Regions from separate parts of the Homo sapiens genome. Here all the other regions are linked to region 4. The links are contacts of gene promoters, found by promoter capture Hi-C in blood cells and fetal thymus (Javierre and others, 2016). All regions are on one chromosome and are shown on one strand. Each heading gives the region's core, a stretch centred on a gene start or on the middle of the fragment in contact. The rest is flanking DNA. Distances are from core to core; before and after follow the strand shown.

The links. Contacts are between HindIII fragments. The CHiCAGO score rates a contact against its expected background, and 5 or more counts as called.
Region 1: a fragment that was not itself captured here is called in contact with the fragment with the promoter of ARHGAP20 in region 4 in 2 of 17 cell types (M1 macrophages and naive B cells); the score reaches 7.2 in M1 macrophages.
Region 2: a contact is called between a fragment that was not itself captured here and the fragment with the promoter of ARHGAP20 in region 4, in 5 of 17 cell types (M1 macrophages, total B cells, naive B cells and 2 more). The highest score is 9.3, in M1 macrophages.
Region 3: a contact is called between a fragment that was not itself captured here and the fragment with the promoter of ARHGAP20 in region 4, in 1 of 17 cell types (total B cells). The highest score is 7.7, in total B cells.

The regions. Positions count from the first base shown.
Region 1 is chr11:111,277,787-111,280,690 of GRCh38, reverse strand. The region is part of intron 2 of POU2AF2 (POU class 2 homeobox associating factor 2); the gene reads right to left. Among named protein-coding and RNA genes, the nearest start is that of POU2AF3, 19 kb to the left of the region's middle. The HindIII fragment of the contact is 4,046 bases long and covers 1-2,904 here.
Region 2 is chr11:111,252,695-111,255,940 of GRCh38, reverse strand. The region is part of intron 1 of POU2AF2 (POU class 2 homeobox associating factor 2); the gene reads right to left. Among named protein-coding and RNA genes, the nearest start is that of POU2AF2, 8.6 kb to the right of the region's middle. The HindIII fragment of the contact is 180 bases long and covers 1,496-1,675 here.
Region 3 is chr11:111,439,150-111,442,121 of GRCh38, reverse strand. It overlaps a transcript of BTG4 not described here. Among named protein-coding and RNA genes, the nearest start is that of POU2AF1, 61 kb to the right of the region's middle. RefSeq lists enhancers at 202-1,401, 2,238-2,824 and silencers at 2,733-2,802, 2,823-2,872. The HindIII fragment of the contact is 450 bases long and covers 1,423-1,872 here.
Region 4 is chr11:110,710,620-110,713,707 of GRCh38, reverse strand. ARHGAP20 (Rho GTPase activating protein 20) reads left to right here and starts at 1,271. Exons shown (of 15, transcript NM_001384657.1): 1 at 1,271-1,581. The coding sequence starts at 1,477. RefSeq lists silencers at 1,160-1,319, 1,340-1,399 and enhancers at 923-1,424, 2,407-3,052. The HindIII fragment of the contact is 6,153 bases long and covers 1-3,088 here.

The DNA.
Region 1 (2,904 bases), core at 148-2,647, 570 kb before region 4:
GTGCTTTCGGGCCATTGTGAAATACAATAAGGGTGACTTGAACACAAGCACTGCCATACAGAGACAGGTGATCCAATCACTGAGTCGGCTACTGAGACACTAACGGGCAGGTGGTGTAGACAGTGTGGATTGGCTGGACAAAGGTAAGATTCAAGTCCTGGGCAGCACAGAGTGGGACTGAATGAAATTTCATCACACCACTGAGAAAGGCATGCCATTTAAGATCTAGAAATTGTTTATTTCTGGAATTTCGCATTTAGTATGTTCAGACTGCAGTTAACCATGAGTAGCTGAAACCTCAGAAAGGGAAACCATGGCTAAGGGGCGCCTACTGTATGTGTGTATGTGCATACATGCACTTAGTGTTTGGCTTCAGCACTGAAGGGCCACTTCAATGTTTACTGTCTGAATCCATGTGGAGGAAGAAGCTCCACCAACTGTAGGGACCTTGACTGTGATGTGCCCTCAGTGCCTAGAACAGGGTGTAGTTCATAATAGACGTAAGAAAAATATGTGGAATGAAGACACAATCTTCAAAGAACCCACAGGCTAGAGAGCAGGGAGAGGTTGGGGAATGTGGTGGGTTGCATTATGTGCCCCCTCCAAAAGATATATATATATATATATATATATTTTTTTTTTTTTTTTTTGAGATGGAGTCTCACTCTCTCACCCAGGCTATAGTGCAATGGCACGATCTCGGCTCACTGCAACTTCCACCTCCCGGATTCAAGTGATTCTCCTGCCTCAGTCTCCTGAGTAGCTGGGATTACAGGCACGCACCACCACACCTGGCTACTTTTTGCATTTTTAGTAGAGATGGGTTTCACTGTGTTGGCCAGGCTGGTCTCGAACTCCTGACCTCAGGTGATCTACCTGTTTCGGCCTCCCAAATTGCTGGAATTTCAGGCATAAGCCACCCAAAGTTATATTGATACCTTAATCCCTGATACCTGTGAATGTGACGGTATTTGCTAATAGGGCTGTTAAAGATGTAACTACTTAAATTAAGATGAGGTCATATTAAATTAGGGTGGGTCCTAAATCTCATGTGACTGATGTCCTAATAGGAAGAGGAGAGGGACGCACAAAGACACAGATGCAGATGGGACAAGGTCATGTGAAGACAAAGGCAGCAGTTTGAGTGATACAACCTCAAGCCAAGGAACATCGAGGATCACCAGTGACAACTGCCAGCTAGGAAGAGGCAAGGAAGGATTCTCCCCAGAGGCTCCAGAGGGAGCATGGCCCTGCTGACACCTTGATTTTGGACTTCTAGCCTCTAGAGCTATCTATGAGATGATACATTTCTGTTGCTGTAAGTCATCCCATTTGTGGTAACTTGTTACTGCAGCCCTAAGACACCAATACAGGGGTGATTGATGACAAAACAGAATATTCGGTGTAGTATGAGAAGTGGCAGGGTCAGGGAAAGATGGGGTGATGCGGGCACCTAAACTGGTGTCAAGAATGGGGTGGGAGACACATCTTGCAGGATGCAGTGCCTAAGCTGACCTCTGAAGGAAGAGTATCTAGGCGTGTAGAGTCTTAAAATACGCAAATCATGGCTCCGAGATGTCCTGGAGCAAAGTAAGTGGAGAGGGTGTAGCTTCTGTGGAAGTTAAGAATCCTCAACATCCAGTTCATTGAATCCGAGCTCTTTTGCAGTGACTTTAATGATTCTATAGACTCTCAAGAGTTGGAAGAAATTTTATAGAGTCTCATTCAATGATTACATTCTCTCCATATTACTAACACCAGGTGCATCTAATATCCAGGCACACAGAACTTAGCACCCTCTGAGGAAACCCATTTCTTCTTTAGGAACTTTTACCAATTACAAAGTTGGCTGGAAAGAATAACTTTCTAGTTCTAATCCCTTTGGTCTTTATAGAATAAGTTTAACACTTCTTGCATACACAGCCCTTCAAATATCTGAAGACAAGCCTATGAAAAATACCATAGACTGCATGGCTTAAATAACAAAAATTTATTTCTCACAGTTCAGGAGACTGGAAGTCTGAGATCTAGGTGTGGTTTTTAGTGCGGGCCCTCTTTCTGGTTTGCAGAAAGCTGGCTTCTCACTGTGTGTTCACATGGCTGAGAGAGAGAGAGAGAGAGAGAGAGAGAGAGACAGAGAGAGAGATCATCTCTCTGGTGTCTCTTCTTATAAGGACACTAATCCCATTAGAGGGATTCACCTGCAAGATCTAATTACCTCCCAAAGGCCCCTTCTCCAAATGCCATCACACAGGGGATTAGCACCTCAACATTTGAATTTTAGGGGAATGCAAACGTGCAATTGCAATCTGTAATATCAACCTCGAGTTCGAACTTCTCCAGGCAAAATATCTTCCAACAACTCAGAAGCAGCATGGTAATTAAGAGTAAAGCCTCTGGAACCAGAGTGACTACATTTGAATCCCAGCTCTACCTCTTATTAGCTGTGGGATCTTGGGCACATGAAGATTAAATGAGATTATTACATCGAGCACTTAGAATAGTGTCTGCCACATGGTAAACAGCATATGTGCCTTAGCTATTATTACTATTATGCATTTGTTGGTTCCTTCAAATCTGTGGTATATTTCTCCAAACCTTTTGATTTATGGGTTTTCCTGTTTAATATTTTAACACTTTTAAGTGGCAGAAGGGAACTCTCGGGCATGTAATGGTCAGAAGTAGGTCCCTTAATATTTCTATGAGAAGGAAAGGGGCAGTGATTAAATCACAGATGCACTTGTATTTGGGCACATATTCCCATGTAGCAGGCGCCCATGTTATCCAGTGTTACCCTCCCATTTTCAGCTCTGTGGTGTGGCTGGGTCTTTCCTTGAAGATCTGTGCCAACACATATGTCTTCTGGCTTCAGCCTCAGCCTCCTTCCAGGTTAAGTAGGATGTG
Region 2 (3,246 bases), core at 336-2,835, 540 kb before region 4:
TTAGGTTAAGCTCCCAAAGGACATGTTTAGGGGGCTGATCATTGTGATGTCATTTTCTTGATAGAATGATAGAATTCCTGGATTTGAAGTGGCTTTGATAGAGTAGCTTCAATAGAGCCGTGTCTCCTGATCTTTGATAGAGACTCATCTAAGCTCTACTAAGTGACAGAAACACTGTTCCATCATCTACACAACAGCTCTTCAAAGTCCCTTCCTTGTACTCTGACTTGTCAAGATTTACTCTGGCAAGGTTTACAAATTATGCTTTAATCACAAGTCCAAGGATTGGATGCAACTTGAAATGATGCTTCTAAATACATGAGGTAGAAGTTAGATTTGTATGATTCAGGTTACAGCATAACAGTATTCCTGCCCTATTATACCTGATGGGAGTGAGCAGGTCAGCAGGAGTTTTAAGAAGATTACGTTCCTAAGAAGAAAGTTGTTTGTTATTGGTTTACTGCACTAAATAAATGTTTTGTTTTTGAAAATCGGTGATTCAACATGAGGAGTTACTGCTTCAAAATAAGGCCGAGGATAAATAAGGAATCATTCATTCATTTAACAAATATTTATTGAGCACTTACTATATTCACTTCCTGAAGATGTTGTAGTGCTTGGCAATTTACATGTATTGCTTCATTTGATCTGTTTTACAGATGGGGAAACTGAGGTCTGCGACTAAATTATTTGCAAGGTCTCACAGCTACTTATAAGCAATAGAGCTGGAATCCAGACTTAGGTCGGTTTGTAGTATCAACAACCAGAAAAATATGCTGTTTTCACCATGAGGGAATTACAGAGAGATAACAGACTATAGAGTAAAACGTTTCCCCAAGGTTCTAAAATTGACAGCATTGCTTCTAGGGATAGTGAGAACCTTATTACTGAGGATGGTGAAGAAATAATAAGAGAACCTTTTGTTTGGCCTATTCTAGAAAGCATTTATACACTGTATTAGTGGTTCCACTAGAGGAATTCTAAGATGTTTTCTAACTATAATTATTATAATTGTTGTTCTGTAGTAGGTTAGACAACTTCCATTTAATTAAAATTAAATACATGATAGTTGAGGTGTTGCTGGCTTACCAGCAAATTCAGCTGGTACAGAATTCAGCATCAGTGTGTATGGCAGAATATAAAAACAAATGTACGTATGAGGCACATAACCAAAATTATTCTCTAATCTGGTTGAATTTGTAGATAGTCCAGAATATATTTGATTTGTGAGTCAAATTGGATTGTAAAAAGAATGAAAGGAAGGAAGAAAGGAAGAAATTAAAGCTACAACCAGAGGTAGTATGGTGCATTGGAGAAAAGAGGTTGCTGGTAATCACAGTTACACATTAGTCACTGGCTTGGAACAATAATAATCTCTCAGTTCCATTTTCCTCATGTGTAAAATGGGTATAATCACCTCTTCTTAGCTGTCTTCAGAGGATTAGAAGGCAAAAATAGGATATACATGTGAAAATTCCTTGAAAGCTAACAAGCTTCATACAAAACACCGATACAAAATGAAGAAGAAAAACAAATCCAGGTTCCAAGACAATGTATTATTTAATTCAAGTAAAGCCACATGCAGCCTTATTTCAGCAAAACAAAGTTATTTGAATCATCATTTGTGTCTAATTTTGACAGGATTTGGTCCATATATGCTATAATTAAAGAAGCTTGAAATACTTCTTTGAAATCAGCCTCAAATTTAAAGCTTACTGATCTTATGATTGTTCCAAAGGAATCTAAATGTTGCTTCTAGAATTGTGTGTGATGCTCTACTTTTGGAAAAGCCTAAGGTCACATTGATTTATTGATTATTGATTGAGTGTTTTCTGTGTGTCAGAACTGGGGATACAAAAGAACATGGCTATCTAGTGGGGAGAGAAATACTTTAAAATAAAATAATTGTGATGCAAACGTGCTAAGTGCAAGAACAGAAATACACCTAGGATAGTCAGAGAAACCCAGAACGCATCACTTCCTTGTAGCGGGGAGAGAGACTCAGGGAAGGCAGGGTGATACCTGAGTTGGGGCTTAAAGCAAGGTAGGGTGTGTGTGGTGATGGCAAAATAGGTAGGAAGACAGCACGGGCAAAGTCCTGGAGGCAAGGACAGAAAGAGGAAGTGGCAGGAAGTGAGGCTGGGGAAATGAGTAGGGGTCAATCATGATGTTTCTGGTATAGGGAAGAGTTTGGAATGCATCCTCTAGGCCATACGCCATTGGGGGCTTTTAAGAAAGACAGTGATGTTGGTTTGATTTGCATTTTATATAGACTTTTCTGGCAGCTGAGAGGAAGGTGGTTTTGAGAATCACAAAGCTGCGGGAAGATCAGTCAGGAGGGTTCTAGAATAATCCAGGCAAGAGCTGATGGGGACTGAGTAGTGGTGGATGGGAGGGCAAGGATCAGACAGGTTTGAACATTATTTAAACATGAGAGAGAAGAAGATTCAAGGGTGAATCTCAAGTTTCCACCATGGAATTGCTCTCAGTACATAAGTTTCAGAACCATCGTGATGTGGATGGTAATGAAACCAAGAAAGAGGATGAAATCCCTTGGGGGAGTGATTGAAAGATAAAGTCACATGGTGGCACACATAGAAAAGAATAATGAGCACCTGGCATACTGGGGTAAACAGGTCAGGCTACTTCCAAGAGCTAAGAGGATCAGTATCTTTGGAATGCCTATAACACTGATTTCTGACACACAGGTTTGGAAGCTGTGGACTAAATGATTAAAGATGGAAGCCTGGGGAACAGTGACATTTGAATGGTTGTCAGAGGAGGAGAGGAGAACCCTATGAAGAAGATAAGGGAAGACTAATTGGAGAAGAAACAGGAAAAACCAGGGGAATAAAGCATCCTAGAATTCTGGGGAAGAGATTTCAAGAAAGAAATTAAAAAAAATCAGAGGCAACAGAGTAGTTCAGGAAGATAAAGACAGAAAAACATCTCTTACTTTCAATTCAGTGGTTGGCATTGAGCTTACCAAGAATAACTCAGAAGTGCGGGGTGGCTGGAAGCCAGACAATAATGTCAATGGAGGAGGTAGACACAGGAAGGGGAGACTATTTCTTCTTGAAGTTTGAATGAGAAAGGGAAACAAGAGATTGAGTGATAATTAGAGAGAATTATGGTGTCAAGGAGAGGTTTGCTTATGTTCTTATATCTATTTATGCATTTATGAGTGGGAGAGAGTTGAAAATATTTGAAGAGGACAGAGGGAAGACTAATGGCTTAGAAGAGAGG
Region 3 (2,972 bases), core at 398-2,897, 730 kb before region 4:
TGGGTGTTAGCTATGCTCTGGTCTCTTATGTTCAACTCACTTTTCTTTCTTTTTTTGTTTTTTGAGATGGAGTCTTGCTCTGTCACCCAGGCTGGAGTACACTGGTGCGATCTCGGCTCACTGCAACCTCCTCCTCCCGGGTTCAAGTGATTCTCATGCTTCAGCCTCCTGAGTAGCTGGGATTATAGGCATGCACCACCATGCCTGGCTAATTTTTGTATTTTTAGTAGAGATGGGGTTTCACCATGTTGGCCAGACTAGTCTTGAACTCCTTACCTCAAGTGATCTGCCTGCCTCAGCCTCTCAAGGTGCTGGGATTACAGGCGTGAGCCACCATGCCCGGCCCAACTCGCTTTGCTTTTCCCTTTCTGTTAATGCTTCTGTCCCCTGCCCGTCAACCATGGGGGTTTCCCAGGATTAGTCACACATTCAAGTCAATAACAAGGAGTTCTTACCCTGTACAAGAACTTCATGAGATCAAAAGCGAGGCACAGTCACGGAGTTTATAGTCAGGCGTGGGAGAGGCATGGATATATTATAAACAGCCCAAGAGCAGACAAGGACAGAGAAGTCAATCCGTAAGGCATCTCTAAGGAACTCATGACTAATTCAGACTGTGGGATCTGGGAAGTCTCTGAGCTGAGAGTTGAAAGAAGAAGGGTGGTGTATTCTCTGTGGTCTGTTCCCAAGCCCATAAAATCTCCCTTGACTCTGGTGCTCAAGGAGCCATCTCTCTCTCGGAGGAGCCGCTGCTGATGCTCTAGTTTGCTTCTCTCTTCCTTCTCAATACTCCTTCCTTCCTGTGGGAACATGAGCAGACCCTGTTCTCTCCCCTACTCCCCAGAGCCCTGAGATATTACATTATGAGATTTTCTTTGCTAATATTTTATTTCTTAAGTTAGGTTGTGGGTACATGGGTGTTTATTATTGTATTCTTCATTCCTTTTTGTATGGCTTGCATATTTCATAATAACATTTGAAATGTATTTGTGAAAAAAAAAAAAAAGAAAAGAGAGCGGTCTCTGGCCCTGGCCTGTGTGACCTTGTGCCCTCACTCCAGGAACCAAGACTCTGCCAGATGACTGCCACTCCCAGCCTAAGCCTGGGAAAGTGCAGCTGGTCTGGGCCAGATGGGTCTGCGGGTGCCTGTCTGACCAGGTATTGCATACATGTTGATGTGACTCAGTACCTAAGTGGTGTGGCAGATAGTCACCTATCCCCTCCTCACTCTCCTTGTCCCCTCATCTCCATGACCCACCTCTGACTTCTGTAGAGTCTCAGAGCTGCAACATAGTGACAACCCTTCTCTACAGCAGGTGCTTGTTGCTGGTGCCATTCTGCAAGGGCTGGATGGGACAAGTCTGGGGCATTCCCCCTGTCTTGGGGCAGCATCTTCGCCTCAGCACTGACCTGACTCAAGCTTCCTTATCTCCCATCTAAAGCTATCTGTGAACAAAAATCTGAAAAGGGCAGATCTAGGTCTGGCAGCAACTGAGAAAAACCAAAGTTCCTGCCAACAGCCAAGGTAGGTAAGAGGCAGGCCAAACGGGGTCAAATGGGGACACCGCCCAGGGGTAGGATGTTGGTTTGAGTCTCTGGGGAAAGAATGGAAAGGATGTCAGCTCCTAGTACATGCAGGCTGGTAACTGTGATGTTCTATTTGCAAGGATAGGTTATTTAGACATTGGGACCAGGAAACTCTGTCTCTGAACTAGTTACAGGGGCTGGTGGCTTCTGAAAAGACCTCTTTAGCTGGTGTGACAGATTAAAGATGTTGCAATTTCTTTTCTTTTGAATCTGCTTGACTAATAGAATGTAGCAGAAGTGAGATTCTGGGATTTTAGAGCCTAGGTCATGTGAAGGCTTGAAGCTTCTGCAGAGTTCTTTTGGGACACTCTCTCTGGGAGCCTTGATCTGCTAGGCTGGAGAGGCCATGTGCAGGCCCTTTGCTCAACAGTCCCAGCTGAGCCAAGCCTTTTAGCCATACTCACTAAGTCACCAGCCATGAAAATGAAACCATCTTAGATCCCAGATCACAGAGTAACCCCAGCCAATGCCAACAGAGCAGACTTACCCAGCTGAGCCCTGAACAGGTTTCTGAACTACAGCACTGTGAGATAAAATAAAACAACCGTTGTCTTAGGCTGCTAAGTTTTGAGATTGTTTGCTACACAAAAACAGATAACCAAGATGGCTGGGGCACCCCTATTCAGGCCACCAGTTCAATGACCAACTTCCAATTCCCGCATCAATATGAGAGATGGAGGATCATGGCTCATTCTCAAAATGACCGGGCGGAGGAGCTGGAGCCAAAACGTAAAGTGCTGAGCATGTCTTTGAAAGGGTCTTCTAGAGGCTCTTTGCTTGGGATGGCTCTATGACTCCTATAGGTGAAGTGCTGAAGTAAATAGGAAAACTGACCTAGGAATGGCCTCCAGATGATGAGGCAAAGTGTGCAGAAACTGAGAGGGGGTGTGAGTCTGGGAGGGGAAGTACGAGGGGGCTGGACGGCATCTGGAAGAGGAAGGTCCTGAGAGACACATAGGAGGGAGCTGGGTTCTGGGAGGAGGACTTGGGGATGAATGTTTCTGTAAGGGAAGTAGAGGGCGGTGGGGGGCACCGAGAGTACAGGCAGCCTTGAGCTGGTGTCTGGCCAAGGGTTGTAGCAGTCCTTGGGCTGGTGTCTTCTCCTGCTCCATCTGCGGCTGTGCTGGGCTCTCTTTAAAGAGCCCTTCTGGGCATCCAGATGAGCTCACACAAACAGTGCAGGTGCAGGTCTGGCCCGTAAACCACAACAACTGGGGCCTGTGCTGCCACAATGCGCTGGGCAAAGCCTCCAGAGGGGGAGAAAGGGTGACTATTTGTTTAGCATCATCAGCAAGAGTTCCAGAACCCATCAAAAGCAAAGCAGAAACTTTTGTATTAAGGAGATTAAACTTTAAACTCAGCTGAGAAGGCTCTGCTGTTTGAGT
Region 4 (3,088 bases), core at 22-2,521:
TACTTTAAACAGTGTGAGGTGGACAAGGCTTAAAACGGGCTGGAACATTTTCCCCCTATTATTTCCACAATAAACCATTCCTGGGCATGGTGGTGATGTGTGCGCGCGCGAGTGTGTGTTGGACAGCATCCCTTCCTTGGAACAGAGCCGGCCAGAGCCCTATTCTTCTACAACCTGTCCTAATAACAGCCTAACCTGGCAGGAACCTCGATTTTTTTCTTCTTACCACAAAAGCAAACCAAACCCCTTCCACAACCTAATATCATAGCGTGGTGTCCTTCCTCACTAATCCGCCACTGCTTCTCTAGTCCTGACTCCAAGGGAAGAATGCCATCTACCGAATCATCCGTACCAGTCAACCAGCCCCGCAAAGTGCAGCAACACTCAGCTCAACGCGGGTCAGCTCCAAATCCTCTCCCTCTGATTATTCTTTGGCCTTTAAAATATTTTTGCCTCTATTTGGGCTGACAGGAAGTTATGCTCTCGGCGCAGATATCTGATAAACACTTCCACATATTGTAGCCTTCTCAATAGCTTAGCCAAATTTCGGCGTCCTCGCTCTGTCTGCATTTTCCTTCATTGCTCTTTCACGTTTGGAATGCCCCCGTCTCTGCAGCCTGCAGACAGCGGAAACCGCGGGTGCAAATGTGCAGGGGCCGCTGACATGACCGGCTGCAGAAGCCCACTCAGGGTTACCCGAACAGGCTAGCGTTCGGGATTGCACAAGAGGTCAGGCGATGCTGTGGGCTTCCAAATTTGTACAGCTGCGACACTCTGCGACGTGCCACCCTATCCCCAGTGGGGTGGGGTGGGGGATTCCCTCCGCAGTCCGCTGAAAGCGAGGCAGGAATCACTGCAACTCCTCTGCTCAGGCTGAGGTCGCCACCGCTCCGCGGATGCACGCGCTGCAGGGGCGCCTTCCGCCGCGGGCACGGCGCGGGAAGGGATGGGGTCTGGTGGGAGTGGGCAGGTGGCGGGAGAGGCGCGTGTCCGTGCACTAGAGGCCCCCGTGCGTGACACAGGCCGATGAGCTCCTGCGGGCTGCACCCACGCGGAGTCACAGACCGAAAAGGTCAGCCGGTGGCCGGTGTGCTAACATATATAGAGAGACGCCCGCCAGGCGCGCCGCAGGCTGGGACGAGGCTAGGAGGGCCCAGGCTGGAGGAGGGCTGAGGAGGGCTGCGGGGGCGGGCCCCGGCGCAGGGCGCCCGGAGCGGAGGGGGCGGGCCCGAGGCGGGGCGGGCCGCGGCGCTGACGGGCTGTCGCCGCTGCACTCGCCTCCAGCCCGCGGTGTCGAGCGCAGGCGGAGGTACATGGCCCCGACGGGAGGCGCGCGGCGAGCACCCGGAGCTCGGCTCCCTGCCTGAGCACGGCAGCCGCGCCTCCGCCCGCGCGTCCTCGCCCCTCCGGCCGGCAGCCCGCGGACATGATCGTGTAGCCTCCTCCTGGGCTGGGATTTGTTTGAAGATTTTCTTCATGGAAGCGATGTCCCCCCAGCAGGAGACTCTAGGGGGACAGCCGGGGCGCTCCTCTTCCCTGACAGGAGTGTCTCGGCTCGCGGGAGGCAGCTGCACCAAGAAGGTGAGGACGCTGAGCGGGGGCCCGTGCCCTCCGCCGCCGCAGCCCCCACTGCCGGCGCGCGCCCTCCGCGCCCGCCACAGCAGCGCGCTAGGCGGACGCCGCGGGAATTTGACGCTCGAGGCTCGCGGCCCCTAATGAGAGTCCCAGAACACTTCCCGCCCTTGACGGCCAGCGGCAGCGCCGCCGCCTCCCGCAGAGCGCCCGCTTCTCCGTTTCTAGAGCCTTAGTCTCTCCTCGAGCGACCTCGCAGCCTCCCTCCCGTCTCCATCCGCCGCCGGTTCTGCAGCCCGGCTCCTCCCTCAGTCTAGGCGCGCGGGCTGTAGTGGGCGATCGCCTTTCCCCGACCCCTCGCCGTGCCCCTGGGCCTCCCGAAGTGGCCTGGGCGAGCACTGACTGCCCTTTGGCGGTGTCAGCCCCAAAGTCAGGGCCGGCGATGTCTGCCCGGGAGCGGCAGCCGGCGCTGAAGAAGGTAGGCAGCGGGGCTGCGGCGCTGGTGGGCTCGGCCCCCTCACCTGCCCGCCGAGGCGCGGCTGCTCCATAGCAGTTTTCGGGGGGCAGATATGGGGAGTACTGCCCCCCACACCAGGGTCCTGGATGATTCCGGGTCTCCCAGGTGGGGGTCACAGTTTGAGGGGCGACTGTGGATGATAACGCTCGACACTACGGGGACATGTAGGTTCGGCTGGGCCTAGAACCGAGCAGGGTGGGGGCGGGTGGGCTGTGGTTGGGGGTCCTGAGGGCTGAGGTGGGGGACCTTCTCCCTGCACTGGTCCCTGGCCCCTGGGACTCTGGCCGGGCTGGATAGGGATCCGGGTGTCGGTGTGGGCGTGGGGGCAGCGCGTGTTCCCTGTCAAAGCTGGGAGAGGGATGCAGGTGACAACTTGTAGCGTTCCATTCCGATAAACACGGCCGCTGTGCTGCGGGAGGATTCCGATCCGGGTCAGGTTTCGCTGGAACGGTTCCCTGAGCAAGTGCACGTGGGCCGCGGGCTGCCGGCCTCTGCCGTTTCGCTCCCTGAGGAATTGATTTGGGTGTTTCTAGCCCTGTCTGCCTGTCCCCCGCCTCCCCACCCCCGCTTCCAGCATAAGACTTTCCGATATTTTGCCTTTTTTTTTTTTTTTGCCTTGTCTTAGTGGTGCCCTTCCAGCTTTTCTGGAAACAAGTTGCGATTAGAGGCATCTTCTAGCTTTTCCTTAAGAAATATCTTAAGGGATTGCATTTGTTTCATTAGAGACTTAAAGGGGTTACGCAGGTTCCCTGCTTGTCTTGATTTTACTGCCTTTCATAAATCTTCCCACCAGGATCTTAGGTTGGCTAGAGGTCAGTTGAAGAGAGGTGATCGGTGTGCCGAGTATAGAAATGTGTGGGAGTTCCCAAGGACCTTGACCGTGTCACGGAGCCATCTAGGGGTGTCCGTGAACTTGATGATGTATGGGCTGTAGTGCCAGCTCAGCCTTTGATGTATTGAGGCTGCGGTTTGTCCTTGTCGCTTTTCCCCTTCGGAGAT